Linked DNA regions of Homo sapiens: regions 1, 2, 4 and 5 are each linked to region 3. Evidence: promoter capture Hi-C in 16 types of primary human blood cells and fetal thymus (Javierre and others, 2016). All regions are on one chromosome and are shown on one strand. Each heading gives the region's core, a stretch centred on a gene start or on the middle of the fragment in contact. The rest is flanking DNA. Distances are from core to core; before and after follow the strand shown.

The links. The method cuts DNA at HindIII sites, captures the fragments that hold promoters and counts their contacts. A CHiCAGO score of 5 or more calls a contact.
Region 1: a contact is called between a fragment that was not itself captured here and the fragment with the promoter of OCIAD1-AS1 in region 3, in 4 of 17 cell types (naive CD4 T cells, activated CD4 T cells, M2 macrophages and 1 more). The highest score is 5.7, in naive CD4 T cells.
Region 2: a contact is called between a fragment that was not itself captured here and the fragment with the promoter of OCIAD1-AS1 in region 3, in 14 of 17 cell types (naive CD4 T cells, erythroblasts, endothelial precursors and 11 more). The highest score is 8.3, in naive CD4 T cells.
Region 4: a fragment that was not itself captured here is called in contact with the fragment with the promoter of OCIAD1-AS1 in region 3 in 2 of 17 cell types (naive CD4 T cells and total CD4 T cells); the score reaches 6.0 in naive CD4 T cells.
Region 5: a contact is called between a fragment that was not itself captured here and the fragment with the promoter of OCIAD1-AS1 in region 3, in 3 of 17 cell types (activated CD4 T cells, non-activated CD4 T cells and naive CD4 T cells). The highest score is 5.6, in activated CD4 T cells.

What each region holds. Positions count from the first base shown.
Region 1 is chr4:48,507,066-48,509,765 of GRCh38, reverse strand. All of the region lies in intron 59 of FRYL (FRY like transcription coactivator), which reads left to right. Among named protein-coding and RNA genes, the nearest start is that of ZAR1, 18 kb to the right of the region's middle. The HindIII fragment of the contact is 2,913 bases long and covers 1-2,700 here.
Region 2 is chr4:48,551,161-48,553,860 of GRCh38, reverse strand. FRYL (FRY like transcription coactivator) reads left to right here. Exons shown (of 64, transcript NM_015030.2): 36 at 478-646; 37 at 2,283-2,367. Among named protein-coding and RNA genes, the nearest start is that of ZAR1, 62 kb to the right of the region's middle. The HindIII fragment of the contact is 1,202 bases long and covers 822-2,023 here.
Region 3 is chr4:48,858,807-48,861,506 of GRCh38, reverse strand. It overlaps OCIAD1-AS1 (OCIAD1 antisense RNA 1), which reads left to right and starts at 1,304. Exons shown (of 2, transcript NR_146806.1): 1 at 1,304-1,350. OCIAD1 (OCIA domain containing 1) reads right to left here. Exons shown (of 9, transcript NM_017830.4): 9 at 1-782. The coding sequence ends at 745. The HindIII fragment of the contact is 4,141 bases long and covers 356-2,700 here.
Region 4 is chr4:48,525,104-48,527,803 of GRCh38, reverse strand. It overlaps FRYL (FRY like transcription coactivator), which reads left to right. Exons shown (of 64, transcript NM_015030.2): 53 at 151-327. Among named protein-coding and RNA genes, the nearest start is that of ZAR1, 36 kb to the right of the region's middle. The HindIII fragment of the contact is 5,857 bases long and covers 1-2,700 here.
Region 5 is chr4:48,592,168-48,594,867 of GRCh38, reverse strand. FRYL (FRY like transcription coactivator) reads left to right here. Exons shown (of 64, transcript NM_015030.2): 16 at 852-938. Among named protein-coding and RNA genes, the nearest start is that of ZAR1, 100 kb to the right of the region's middle. The HindIII fragment of the contact is 2,813 bases long and covers 1-2,700 here.

The DNA.
Region 1 (2,700 bases), core at 143-2,642, 350 kb after region 3:
GTGCATTAGAGAATTGTGGTCTAGGAAATCCACAACCTCTGACAAAGCTGTAATCTTTTTCCCATGATGTGTACATGTACATGGGCAAGCAGTGGGAGAAAAAAGCATGTAGTGAATTAGACAATTACCTCCTAAGAAAGGCTTCTTCAAGTCCAATCTGGCATTGAAAACAGAGTAGCTCTGTTCCTTCCCTAAGAGTAAATCCAGCACATTTTCAATTGGGAGGGACAGAAGAACAAAAAATAATTTCTCTCTTTCACACAAACTGCATACAGTAGGTAATTATTTTTCTAGATGGGTCTTTCATTAATAAGTAGTAAATATCTGTGACATGTATAGACCTATGAAAAATGAAGTGTGTGGTGGTATCTCATGGTACTATTTTGCATTTCCCTGATGACTAATATTTGAGCCCCTTTTCAAATGGATCTCTTCATTTAAGATATTTTGTGAATTGTAGCTTCAAGTACATTGCTCATTTTTGTAAATCGATTGGGTTTTTCTTACTGATTTGTAGGGGCTCTTTATCCTAAATGCAAGCCCTTTTTTGGATGTATGTATTGCGAAGATTATTCCTTCTCTGTAGCTAGCAGTTTTGCTATCTTAGTAGCATTTTTTGATGAACAGAAGTTTTTAATTTTAATAAGTCCAGGTTATCAGCCTTTTCCATCATGGTTATGGTTTTTGTATCTTCAGAAATCATTGCCTACTAGAAGCAAAGGTAGATTGTTAAAATACTGGTCCCAATGAATCATGCTTCTCTTGTCGCCACACCCCTTTGCAATGTGACTTTGCTGTTCTTCCCATGAAGAGACAGAGTCCATTTCACCATCTCTTAAATTTGGGATGGCCTTGTGATTTGCTCTAACCAATCAAGTTCAGAAGCAACGCTGTGTAACTTCCAAGACTAGTCCTGAAGTGGTCTTTTGTGGTGTCTGCTTTTGCCATCATACTGGTCGGAGTGCAAACTGGGGTAAACTCTGGGAAACTATTTGACCTCTAGCCTGCTGGAAGATGAGGCCATGTAGGGGAGAACAGAGGCGTTCCATTGACAGTCAGTGTGCAAGACATATGAGTGAAGCCAACTTGGAACTTCAACCCTGCCGCTTCCCCAGTCAAGCCATCAATGACTGTAGACTCATGAGTGACCCTAGGCAAGACCAGAAGAAACTCCCAGCCAGCACATAGATTCATTTTGGTTGTTTGAAGCCATTAAGTTTTAGGGTGGTTGGTTTTAAAGCAATAGATACCATTTATAATAGGAAAATATCAAATACCTACAAATAAATCTGTCTAAAGATATGCTGTACCTCTATACAGAAAACTGCAAATATTGAGAAAAATTAAAGACCACCTAAATGGAGGACTATATACCATGTTTATCAATTAGAAGACTCAATATGGTAAAGATGTCATTTTCCCCCAAAATGGTCTATAGGTTTAATGCAGTCTCATTCAAAATCTCAGATGGTATATTAATGGAAATTGACAAGCTGATTCTAAAATTTATATGGAAATTCAAACAACTAATAATGCTTACAAACTTCTTGAACACAGGTTAGCAAACTACAGCTGTCAAGTTATATCTGGCCCACTGCCTATTTTTGTAAATAAAATTAGTAGAAAACAGCTATCTGGTTTACTTACATATTGTCCATGGCTATGTTTGCACTGTAACAATTAAATAGTTACAAAGACTATATGTTTTGCAAAGCCTAAAATATTTACTGTCTGCCCTATTTAATTTTCCCATTCATTTTTGAGTTATACATTCTTTTTATTATTATTCAAGACTGCTAAGGCTCACAGGTGAATTGAATTATTTTTCTCTCCCCAGCAATGTGAGACCAGCGGTCTCTGCCGACCTTCTCAGTCTCCCAGGGGCTGCTGTGTGGTTTTGTAGCCTCTCCCCCTGCAGATAATAAACAGGAACAGCAAGTGTTCTAAGGCGAGACTGCACAGAGACTATTGGGGTCACTTCTCTGCAGTTCTCTTTTCTCCAGGATATTGGCCCTCAATATCTCACGATCTATCTATCTATCTATCTATCATCTATCTATCTTTGAAAACTGTTTTCCCAGCCCAGTGAAACTGTAGGGCATAAACTCTAGGCCACTGCTTTCTGTTCAGCCTCTATGCGCAGGGACGTGAATATGAATACACCTAGAGTAGAGTAAGCACTGGGGCGGGTATTGGGCTCACTCCGGTACTTTTCTCTAACTAACTAACTGTTTGTTTGAGTGAGTTTTGGCCGATAGGATTCAGCTTCCATCATTGTCCTTGCAGGATTGGTCTTTCTTTCTTTTATACAGGCTACTCCATCACACCCAGAAGTAGAACCTCGACAGTTAAAAATTTTAACCTTCATTTGAACCTTGAATAAAGAAAATGCCGTGACAGGAAGACTGATTGATTAGATGTGAACTGGAGGGTGTTCTGAGCACAAACTACCATGTCTTGTATGCTCTGGCTGGAAAGGTGTGGACCTGTATCTCTCAGGCCAGTGTGCAGCCACAGGACTATATGGTTGGGGTTTGTCTTTTAACAGAATAAAAATCAGCAATATTTTGAATAGTGCCCCCCAAAAGGCTGTATCATTAGGTACACAGTATAAAAATAAGCCATTAAATAAATAATCAACTGAAATTATTTTCAAATTTATTAGTATACTTGGACAAACTGGACAAGATAAGGCATAAT
Region 2 (2,700 bases), core at 173-2,672, 310 kb after region 3:
TTCTAATTTAGTTCTAGTTCTTTGCTCTTAATGACTACTCTGGTTGACTATAGGGAATGGGGAAGGCGGAATAAAAGATAAACCCTGGGTTTGGAGGCTGGCTAACTAAAAATCAGAGGAAAATCTTAGGATGTTATTACCTGTGTTTCCATTAAAAGAGAAATTTTTACAGAAAAGTATTTTTTTGTTTTTTTTTTTTTTTTTTTTTAAAGTAAAGAAAGTGCATAAAGTGGAAACCACTAAACCGCTAAACATACTCAGTTCACCCTAATTAGATCTAATGCTGAGAGTTAGAGGGAGGACAGTATTGATAAAGCTGATTAATGTCTTATTGTTGATCAGTGCTAATTTTGATTTAGATTGTGTTTATTCATCTACCACTTAAAGTTGAACTTACTCTGATAAAGTTTGTCTCAGGAGAAATTAATGAGATAAAAACTTTGCTTTTTCTTTTCTGAACGATTTCTTTTGTGACAGGTGAAGAAGGTCATTGTATATTTAGGTAGAGATAAAACAATGCAGTTGCTAGAAGAGCTGGTGAGTGAGCTTCAGCTGACCGATCCTGTCAGTTCAGGGGTCACTCACATGGATAATCCCCCGTATTATCGCATCACTTCCAGCTATAAAATCCCTTCTGTCACCTCAGGTGAGAAATTTGTTAAAACCGATTGCTGTGTGAGATGATAGACATCTTCATCTGCTTCACTATGGTAACCATTTTAGGGTCTCTATGTCCCATAACATGTTATGAATCTCAGATATATACAATAAAATTTATTAAAAGAAAAAAACAAATCTTCCTCAGTATTGAAAGAGAAGCTTAACATAATTGTTAAACAAGAGTTTATTGTGTCTTTAAATGTATATATATATACACACCTATATGTATGTGCATATATTAAAATTATTGTAATATTTTGAGTATGAAGAAACTATGTTCCTAATAGAAGAACATCCAATGAAATTCAAAATAGTAAAAAGGCTATTGTAGATGAAATTTCTGTTAAACTCTTTGTTACTCAGTTTACTTTAAATGTTTTCAGCATGCTAATAACATTATCTGTAAAACTAGAAATATTTTAAATTATCTCTTTATAATTTATTTTTTACCATCCATTTTCATCACCTAGTCCTTTTGTTTTATTTTCCAGGAGATGTCTAATAATGCTTCTATTGAATTTTTCATATCGGCTAGAATGTTTTTAATTCTAAAGTTTCATTTAATTATAATTTTTTAAAGTAGCATCCTATTCATGTTTCATAGTTGGACTGTTGTTTCGTATCCAATACAGTTATAAAGTTTTCTCCCAGCAGAAGTCCTCATTTTCTCTACATTGCTGTTTTGTGTTGATAAAACTTTTCTCAAAAGCCTACCAATTCTAGATCTGTCTTTTCATAAAGAGTAGAATATTAAAAAAAATATAAGTTCTATAAGTATATATGGAACTTGTTGTCTGTGTGCTTTGTCGTACCATGATTTCAGTGATGCCAACGTCTGTAGGTCTTTTCTCCTAGATTTATCAGATTCCCTAGAGAAAACTCTTTCTAGTCATTTGCCTGCAGAGGGTGTGTCTGAACACACACACACACACACACACACACACACACACACACACCCCTTTGGACTGTTTATATTTATACACACACATATACACAGGCTTCAAACTTTCTGGAAGCCCAGTGGGGTAAGAAGGATGTTGGGGGGGGTGCAGTCTCAAATTTTAGCATGTGCATTTTCATTTAATGCCCCTGTTCTTTGTAAGGTGCCTCCTCTTTCAGGAGTACATGGCGTGCCCTAGTTCAGGAATCTTCTGATTTACTCTCATCAGAAAAGACTTCTAGAAGTGGGGAAAGACAGCCACCCAGCTGCAAGAGGCAAGAAAGTAGATTTGGGGAACCAGTTACTTCTAAAATAGATTGACTTTCAGCCAGGTTTCCTATTTTTTCGCACCACCTTCAACCCCTGTTTCCAGAGGTTCTCGATGCTACCTTTTGGAAGTTCAGCAATATAAACATGGAAGCTTCTTGGTTTTCACCCACCACCACCTTTGGATTCAGCCTTCTTAACACTTAATTACTTACTGTCCATTTGTATTCTAGCATCCAAAAATTTGTTTGTCTTATGTCCTTTCCCTTTTGGTCATTATGAGTACATTCCTTTTTTTAAATGACTTTGCTCTCATTTTAGTTAAGTTTTGATATCTATAATTTGAGATCTTTTGTTCTTATTGGGTTATTCCAGGTTTGTAGATTCACGAGTACTGCTTTGTCTTTGATTACAGGAACTACTTCCAGTAGCAATACAATGGTAGCTCCCACAGATGGCAATCCTGATAATAAGCCCATTAAAGAGAATATTGAAGAGAGGTAAGTACTTCTCTGTTCTGTATTAGCCTTTCAGTTTGACAGATACTGGTTGTCATCAGAATAAATGATATTTTCTGCATTGAAATGTGGATGTTGCTGTGTTAAAATTCGAGTGAAAAAAATATATTTCCATGCTGGAAACTTTCCACATTGAGAGTTTCAACATTAAAGATGCTAGCCTGCTAGATTTTTTTATATGCTCTAATGTATAAATAGGTGGTATATGGTAAGTCACTTTTTGTATTGCTTAAAGTTTTAGACCTATATAAATGGTATTTACTCCACCTGTTTTGTATGCCAGAATATTATTTTAGGTAGAAATAATTGATTAAA
Region 3 (2,700 bases), core at 55-2,554:
CTTTGTTGCCCAGGCTGGTCTCAAACTCCTGGACTCATGCAATCCTCCCACTTCGGCCTCCCAAAGTGCTGGGATTACAGGCATGAACCACTGCCCACTGCCTCCAGCCATATTATAGATTTATAGCCATATTATAGCCATATTATAGAAATATTATAGATGACTTTATTTCCTATACCTACATGATTATAACTAGCTTAAAAATAAATCAATAAATTACAAACAATAAAACCATAAAATCAAGGAAGATGAGGGCTGTTGCATGTTCCTTTACATTTTATTTGCCATAAACATTAAGATAATACAGAAAATACTGGAGAAAAAAAGCTTTTTAATAATTTCTTGATGCAAAGCTTCACACTTAAAAATTATGCTTGCTCCCCCCATCCACCCCAATTCAACATGCAGATATCATTTATTTTCTTATATGCTGATTCTAGAGCATTGTAATCTCGACGGTTTTTTAAGAGTTATCTTTGCCCTTGCAACAATTTCACAAACTGTATACAATCATGGTATAATACCATCATTCAAATGAATCCCTAAGGTGAGTACATTTACACAATATTAACACTAAAAATCTGTGTTTTTTTAAAACACCATAGAAGTCAAACCACAAAAACCCAGGATCTTGTTTTAAATGTGTTTATGAAGACTGCTGCTGAGCTCAAAGCATGCAGGTAATCATGACCACCTAGATGAAGCTGGATGTTGAAACTCCTTCATGTCCAATGATGTAATTTTTCACTCATCCCAAGTATCTCCATACTTGTTTACTTTGACTAGGAAAAAAGCATAAATAATTGATGATTCCAAGCAATAATAAGTAAAAGACATTATTTTAAGTTTGTTGCTATGATGAAAAGTTATGTTTCTCTCTCATTTGAATAAAAGCACATGAGAGTCAAATTATAATTACAAAAAGGGGATGACCAGACTTTTGTGAACTTGGGGTTGGACAAATGCATTGTATCTAGAATTTTACATAAATAGTTAGTCCTCATAACAAACTTCTAAACACAATTCTCATTTTAATGGTGAGAAAAAAGATTAGTAACTTGCCCAAGGTACAAGCCCTAACAAGAACTGAGATTTGAGTATAGGTCTGTTTAGATCCAAAGCCTAGGTACCTTTACATCTTTACCATACTACCTAAGTGTGGCACATATTAAGCCATATACAAAAAAAAAAAAAAATAGTGGGAAATAATAAAACAAACATTTGAATTTTCGTTTTTCACAAAAAATACAGCAGTAGAAATGGTCAAGTGTTCAAGTTGTAATTAATTCAATCTTCTCTCTCAGGGCTGTAAATACTACTATAAGAAGAAAATACTACTACATTTTACAGGTACTCTATATTTTACATTTTAAAACATGCTCCGCTGTCTATTCTACTCCTTTACTTTTTTGCTTCTCTTCCACATAGCTTCTGTCTGTGAGTAATCATAACAATATAAAGCAGCAGTTATCACAGTGTGGACTCTTCAGGGAATACATGAAGTCAAAATTATTTCATTATTATACTAAGACATTATATATCCTTATGTTTCACATTTTGCCTTTTCCCCTTGCTCTCATTCCCTCATGAGTATATGTTACATGGTTTTCTAGAAGCTACAGGATGTGTGGTGACATTGCTCTGGCAGCTAATGGAATATGTGCTTGAATTTTTTAAATTTCTGGGTCTTAATTTCTAATTAGATAAATATCAACCACATAAGCTAAAGGTGAAAACTTTAAGTGACACTTTCTGACCATGTGAATCTACCCTGTACTAATTTCAACAATAATTCAGAAAATGACTGAAACTATTTCATAACAAGTCTTTTCTTTAAATTATATAAAGCACACAAAAAACCAGCTTTTCCCAAAAAAAGAAAAAATCATTTCACATTCTTGTGTCATGTAACAGAACTTGAAGACTTCAGTCAAAAATCAAAAATGTCAAAATCCAGCAAATGTTAAAGGTCTACCAAATTTCCTTTCTTAACCTCTATTACCATAGAAGCCTAAACCAAAATACTCAATTTCTGATACAGTGTAAAGTACTATGCTATGCAGACAATAATAGAAAAGATTACAAAAATGAGAAAAATATTACTTTCTGCCCTCACAGAGCTTACAATCTAAATCCTCAAATTAATTAGCAGGACAAAGTACCGACAAGTCTTTACATATTACAGAGCAATGGCCACTAGATGCAGTTTATGCTAAATGTTGTTTGATGACAAACATTCAAAAGTATGGTACATCCCTAATTCATTTCAAAGGTAGATTTTTTTTACATCAATAATATGATGCAGATATTATCTATCATTGTTATAAAAACAGAACTCCAAACGAAGCAACCGCTAATGATTAAAAATAAAATTAGCTCTAAAAAATGACCATAACAACAAATACTAAGGACTTTCATGTATTTTTGCATTCTTTGTGGCATATGACCTTCAAGAAGGTACCAAAGACCTATTATTTCCATTTTTAAAGTAGTAAATAGAAAATCTTGAAACAATGACACATACTCTGAAATTCCTTAAGAGAAAATCATAAAACCCTATACTGAAATAGCTATAAAACCCTATTCGAATGTCCTCTTCCTTTAGAGGTAAACTTGTATCAAAAAATTTACTTTGGCTAATGTATAGCTATTCCAAAAAGACTTAAAAGAAACCAGGATTTAAAAATTCATCTTTAAGAA
Region 4 (2,700 bases), core at 1-2,500, 330 kb after region 3:
TGTGTTCAACTAGTTAAACATGAAGACCAAATTTAAGCTGTGAATTCATTGAAGAATGAGGCCTGCGGTGGCTTTGGGGTACTGATACCTCATACGCAGAGTGACAAATCTGATGGATGGACTTTTTTTTTTTTTTTAATCGGGCATCAGGTTGTATTTTCTTCTAATGAGGATTTGGAAGTCGGTGACCAACAGACTAGCCTAATTTCTACAACAGAAGACATAAATCAAGAGGAAGAAGTAGCTGTGGAAGATAATAGCAGTGAACAACAGTTTGGTGTTTTTAAGGATTTTGACTTTTTAGATGTTGAATTGGAAGATGCAGAGGTAAGGATGTGGGCTTTCTCTGTTAATATTTATAGAACAGTTGTATGAGAATTAAGGATTTGATCACAGGATCATTCCTTATTGAGGTCAGTGTAAGGTCAAAAAGGTAAAAATCTAAATTAGGAATTAAATTTGATTACCACAATTAGTCAATAGAATAAGTCTGAGATAAAAGAGAAACATTCCATTTTTCATCTTTATCTTTAAAAATATAAAATTAAAAAATGGCTTCCTTCAAAATTATTTTCAGGGTATGCTTAGACTTAAATGTTTTGCATGATTTGTCTTACAAACTAATATGCAGCCAAATGGTAAAAATTTATATGAGAATTGATTAAGGACAACTTTAAAGAGAGTTGCACTTACCACTAAATTGCACATTCATCAACTCTCATGTACATATACATATACTACTCATATACAGCTCATACACATTCATCAATTCTCATGTACATATACATATACTACTCATATACACACTTACCACTAAATTGACATATCACAAAGGGTTTGTCTTTCTAGAACTCTTCCCTTTGGCAAATGACTGAGCTTCTTTCTTTGACATTCGAAATCACTTTCTTCTTTATGATGTAGGTAACTCTCTCAAATGCCTGGTTTCATTTAATACTCAAAGCGTTTCTCTTCTAAATTGATTTAGTCTGGATTACATTATATTGGTAGTTATGTCAGTTGAGATGCTTTCTAAATGGAATTTAAAACTCAGAAAGTAGATTTATTAGCCCACAAAACTAGTCCAGAATTAGAGCTTATATTTAGATATGGCTCAATGAAGTTTCTGGCTGTTTATCTGCAGTTCTCTAGGCTCTCCCCTTCTCTGCCAGTCAGCTTGACCTCAGATAGCAGCAAAACCGTCTTCATTGCTGGGTAATCTTAGCCCCACACACAGCAGTGTTTGAAGGAGGTGAGGGTCACATCCAGAAATGCTCTCAGAAAAGTAAGGAAGCTGCTTTCCTAAATGGTCTTAGCAAACTTCTTGTAACATCTCATTGGCCCAAATTAGGACACATGCTACTTTCTGAAACAACCACTCTAGTGAATAGAATAGGATTACCCTGGTTGTCTTAGGCTATTAGAGATCCATTTCTGTAGCTGAGCTCAGTTCCCTAAACCACAGTCTCTTAACCCTGAAAGTTTATATCAAATAGATTTGTTTTAAACATGTACATTTTGAAATTGCTACAAATATCTGTATGCAAGAAGACCAAAATGCCTTAATACCAAGTATCTGTATACCATATCTTGATGTATCTTTTTCTAAAGAATCAAAACTCATAGCTCAAATACATTTAGCTCTCATATACATATACATATACTATTCATATACAGCTCATACACATTCATCAGCTCATATACATACACATATACAACTCATATACAGCTCATACACATTCATCAACTCTCATGTACATATACATGTACTACTAATATACAGCTCATACACATTCATCAGCTCTCATATACATACACATATACAACTCATATACAGCTCATACACATTCATCAACTCTCATGTACATATACATATACTACTCATATACAGCTCATACACATTCATCAACTCATGTACATATATACATATACTACTCATATACAGCTCATACACATTCATCAACTCTCATGTACATATACTACTCATATACAGCTCATACACATTCATCAGCTCTCGTATACATATACAACTCATACAGATCATACACATCCATCAACTCTCATGTACATATACATATACAACTCATATACAGCTCATACACATTCATCAGCTCTCGTATACATATACATATACAACTCATACAGATCATACACACTGATCAACTCTCATGTACATATACATATACAACTCATATACAGCTTATACACATTCATCAGCTCTTCTTGTAGGGGTGTTTCCTTTGGCTCTAATAGGTGAGGCGGAGGAATGAAATGTAATGCACTCTCCCGTATCACACTGTTCATTGTCCATGGAAGACCAGTTTGAGGAAGTAAAGTTCCCTCTCCTCAACATGCCTCAGTGCCCCCTGCAGATGTGAGGATGTGACCATGGTGCCTCCAAGTAATGCAAATGCCTTCATGTCAGTTTAGGAGCTGTGTAGGCTCCTATGGAATACTCCACCATTTACATTTTCCCAAAGACACAATTGTACAGGTTCATAGGAACTCAAGAACAGGTATTATTTAGCACCTTTCAGAGCAGTAGCTTTTAAACTTTTTTTTGACACTAATCCACAGTTAATACATTTTACATCACATCCAAGTGTGTGTATATATATATATATATATATATATATATATATACCTTTAAAAATAAAAGTTGCAAGAATATGCATCCAAACTCTATGCTGTGCATACTGATAT
Region 5 (2,700 bases), core at 71-2,570, 270 kb after region 3:
TGTTAATGAGCCAATACAAGGTTTTGGTCACATTTCCTTTTGGGACATCCATCTTGGAGAAACATAGGTAAGGTTATCTCGTCAACATGGGAAAATGCTGTGATTCCAGAATATTGATTGCATTCTCTTTCAACTGAAACTGTAACAATCTAGATGATCCATAATTCAATTATTTTTGACAGTGAAGAAATAAAGAATATTTAAATAGAATTAGTACATTGTTATTTACTAGAGTACAAAAGTAATGGTAATTCGATAAGTATAAGGGTATCAGTAAGATTAATAAAAGCAAATTGTGCTTTAGATCAAGTGTTCAAAAAACTTGTGACATTAGGTTGAATCTCTTCTTTTTTTCCAGAATTGTACCCACTCCCTTGAATTAGTTACCTTCCTCCAGCACTCCACCAGAATTATAAAACTCCTTTCAAACAGCAGTTAATCTAATTAGTTAACTTCCCCCCACCCCCCGGGAGATTTCCTTCCTAGAGCCCCATTCTTCCTGACCCAGTATGAACTCACTGCTGTCTAGGCCTGCTGCCTGGCTATTGTCTTGGGACTTCCTTTCATTGTCACCCTGGGAATTCTTTCACTTTGATTTTAATATGATTTTGGTGAATGAATGTTTAAAACTTTATTCTGTTGGTTTGGGTATTAAACAAATCATTTGATAATTAAATAATATACTTATAATCATGTATTTTGACCTTAATTCATATGTATTTTTCTTCTGTTCAGCTGTGAACTTTTTAAGGGCACAAACCTGTCTTGTTGTCATTGTATATTATATTTATAATTCTTAGCATGATACCTAACACATAGTAGCAAGTTATAAGGATTTTTTTTTTTTTAAGGAACGCTTGGATTTTGCAATGAAAGAAATAATATTTGATCTTCTCAGTGTTGGAAAATCTACTAAAACTTTCACCATTAATCCAGAGGTAAAAAAATTATAATGTAATAATATAAAATCCTAGATTTTTTTTTTAAGAGCATGATTTCTGGAATCAGAACTCTTAGGTTCAAATCCCAGCTCTACTTCTAATAGTAGCTGTGATCCAGGACAAGTTACTTAACCTTTCTAATAGCTGGCCGAATGGTTTAATAATAGTGTTTGTTTGTTTGTTTGTTTGAGACAGAGTTTTGCTCTTGTTGCCCAGGCTGGAGTGAAATAATGGTGTTTAAGCGTGGTAGAAAATAATAAATAGGCCGGGCACGGTGGCTCATGCCTGTAATCCCAGCACTTTGGGAGGCTGAGGCGGGCAGATCACCTGAGGCTGGCAGATCACCTGAGGCTGGCAGTTTGAGACCAGCCTGACCCCAACATGGAGAAACCCCATCTCTCCTAAAAATACAAAATTAGCCGGGAGTGGTGGCACATGCCTGTAATCCCAGCTACTAGGGAGGCTGAGGCAGGAGAATCGCTTGAACCTGGGAGGCAGAGGTTGCGGTGAGTCGAGATCAAGCCATTGCACTCCAGCCTGGGCAATAAGAGCGAAACTCTGTCTCAAAAAATGAATAAAGAAAGGAAAATTTTATCAGGTTAGTCAGCTCAGCTGGCTCCTGGAAGTTATAATGAGCCCAGGTTTTTTTTTTTTTGGTTGTTTTTTTTTTTACTTCACATTGTTTATATTTAAGGTGTTCTTCAATAAATCTCATTCATTCAACATTTATTGAGCACCTGAAATGTGCCAGGCACTGTTCTAGGTGTTATAGAAAAAACAAAAATTTGTTTCCCCCATGCCAAAAAAAATCAACATTAAAAAAGTGAATGTTATATCCTGCTTCCATGGTCTCATTATTCACTAGTAAACTCTAATTCATTCTTTAGACATTAGATTTTCAGGATTTTTCAAAATATTTCATAAATTAATTCTTTGTTGGAATCTAATTACATTTGAGGATATAAAAAGGCAAAATAGGTGTTATCTGTTTATTTTCTTATTTATTTTAAATTACTATCTTGATCCTATACATAGTCAAATCCTAAGGTATGTGTTTATGTGGTTAACAAATGAGTTGGAAAGATAATGCAGCTTTTCATTTGTAATATTTTTAAGATAGTTTAATAATTATTTCCAGATTTTGGAAGTGGGCAAACATGATTGTTTGTATAGCTGACATACTTAACTTGTTGGGGGTACATGTATCCCAGTGGGTGTAGAAGGTAGTTCACTGGAATACAGGAAAAAAATAAAGCTCTTATTTATATATTTTTTGGTTTCTACCGACAAAAATGGTTTCCAGCAACAAAAATTATGAAACAAAAGATATTTTCTTGAACATCCATTTTAAGAAAATATTCACTCTATTGAATAAATTTATTTCTGAAAGTAAGTTTTTTTCTTCCTGAAGTTCTCATACTAGGTATGAGTAAAAAAAATCAGTTCTGCTGGGTTTTTTTCTGTGGGGGAGGTGGTTGTTATTTATTAGGTTTACTTTGTTAGGATTATCTTGGATCTGTATTTTCTTTTCTTGGATCTGTATTTTCTTTTCAAGGACTTTTGTAAGAGCTCATGTAGTTAAAGCTAGATAAAATTATCCATTAGCCCATTTAATCAAATACATGCAAATTGCAATACACTGAAAGAATGTATAAGTGAAGCTACATTGTGGAGCTTTTCTGCGTCTTTCAAGGTGTCGTCTTTGACTATGTGACATGTGACTATCTGATACTTAGACTAAGGGAGGGCACCAGTACTA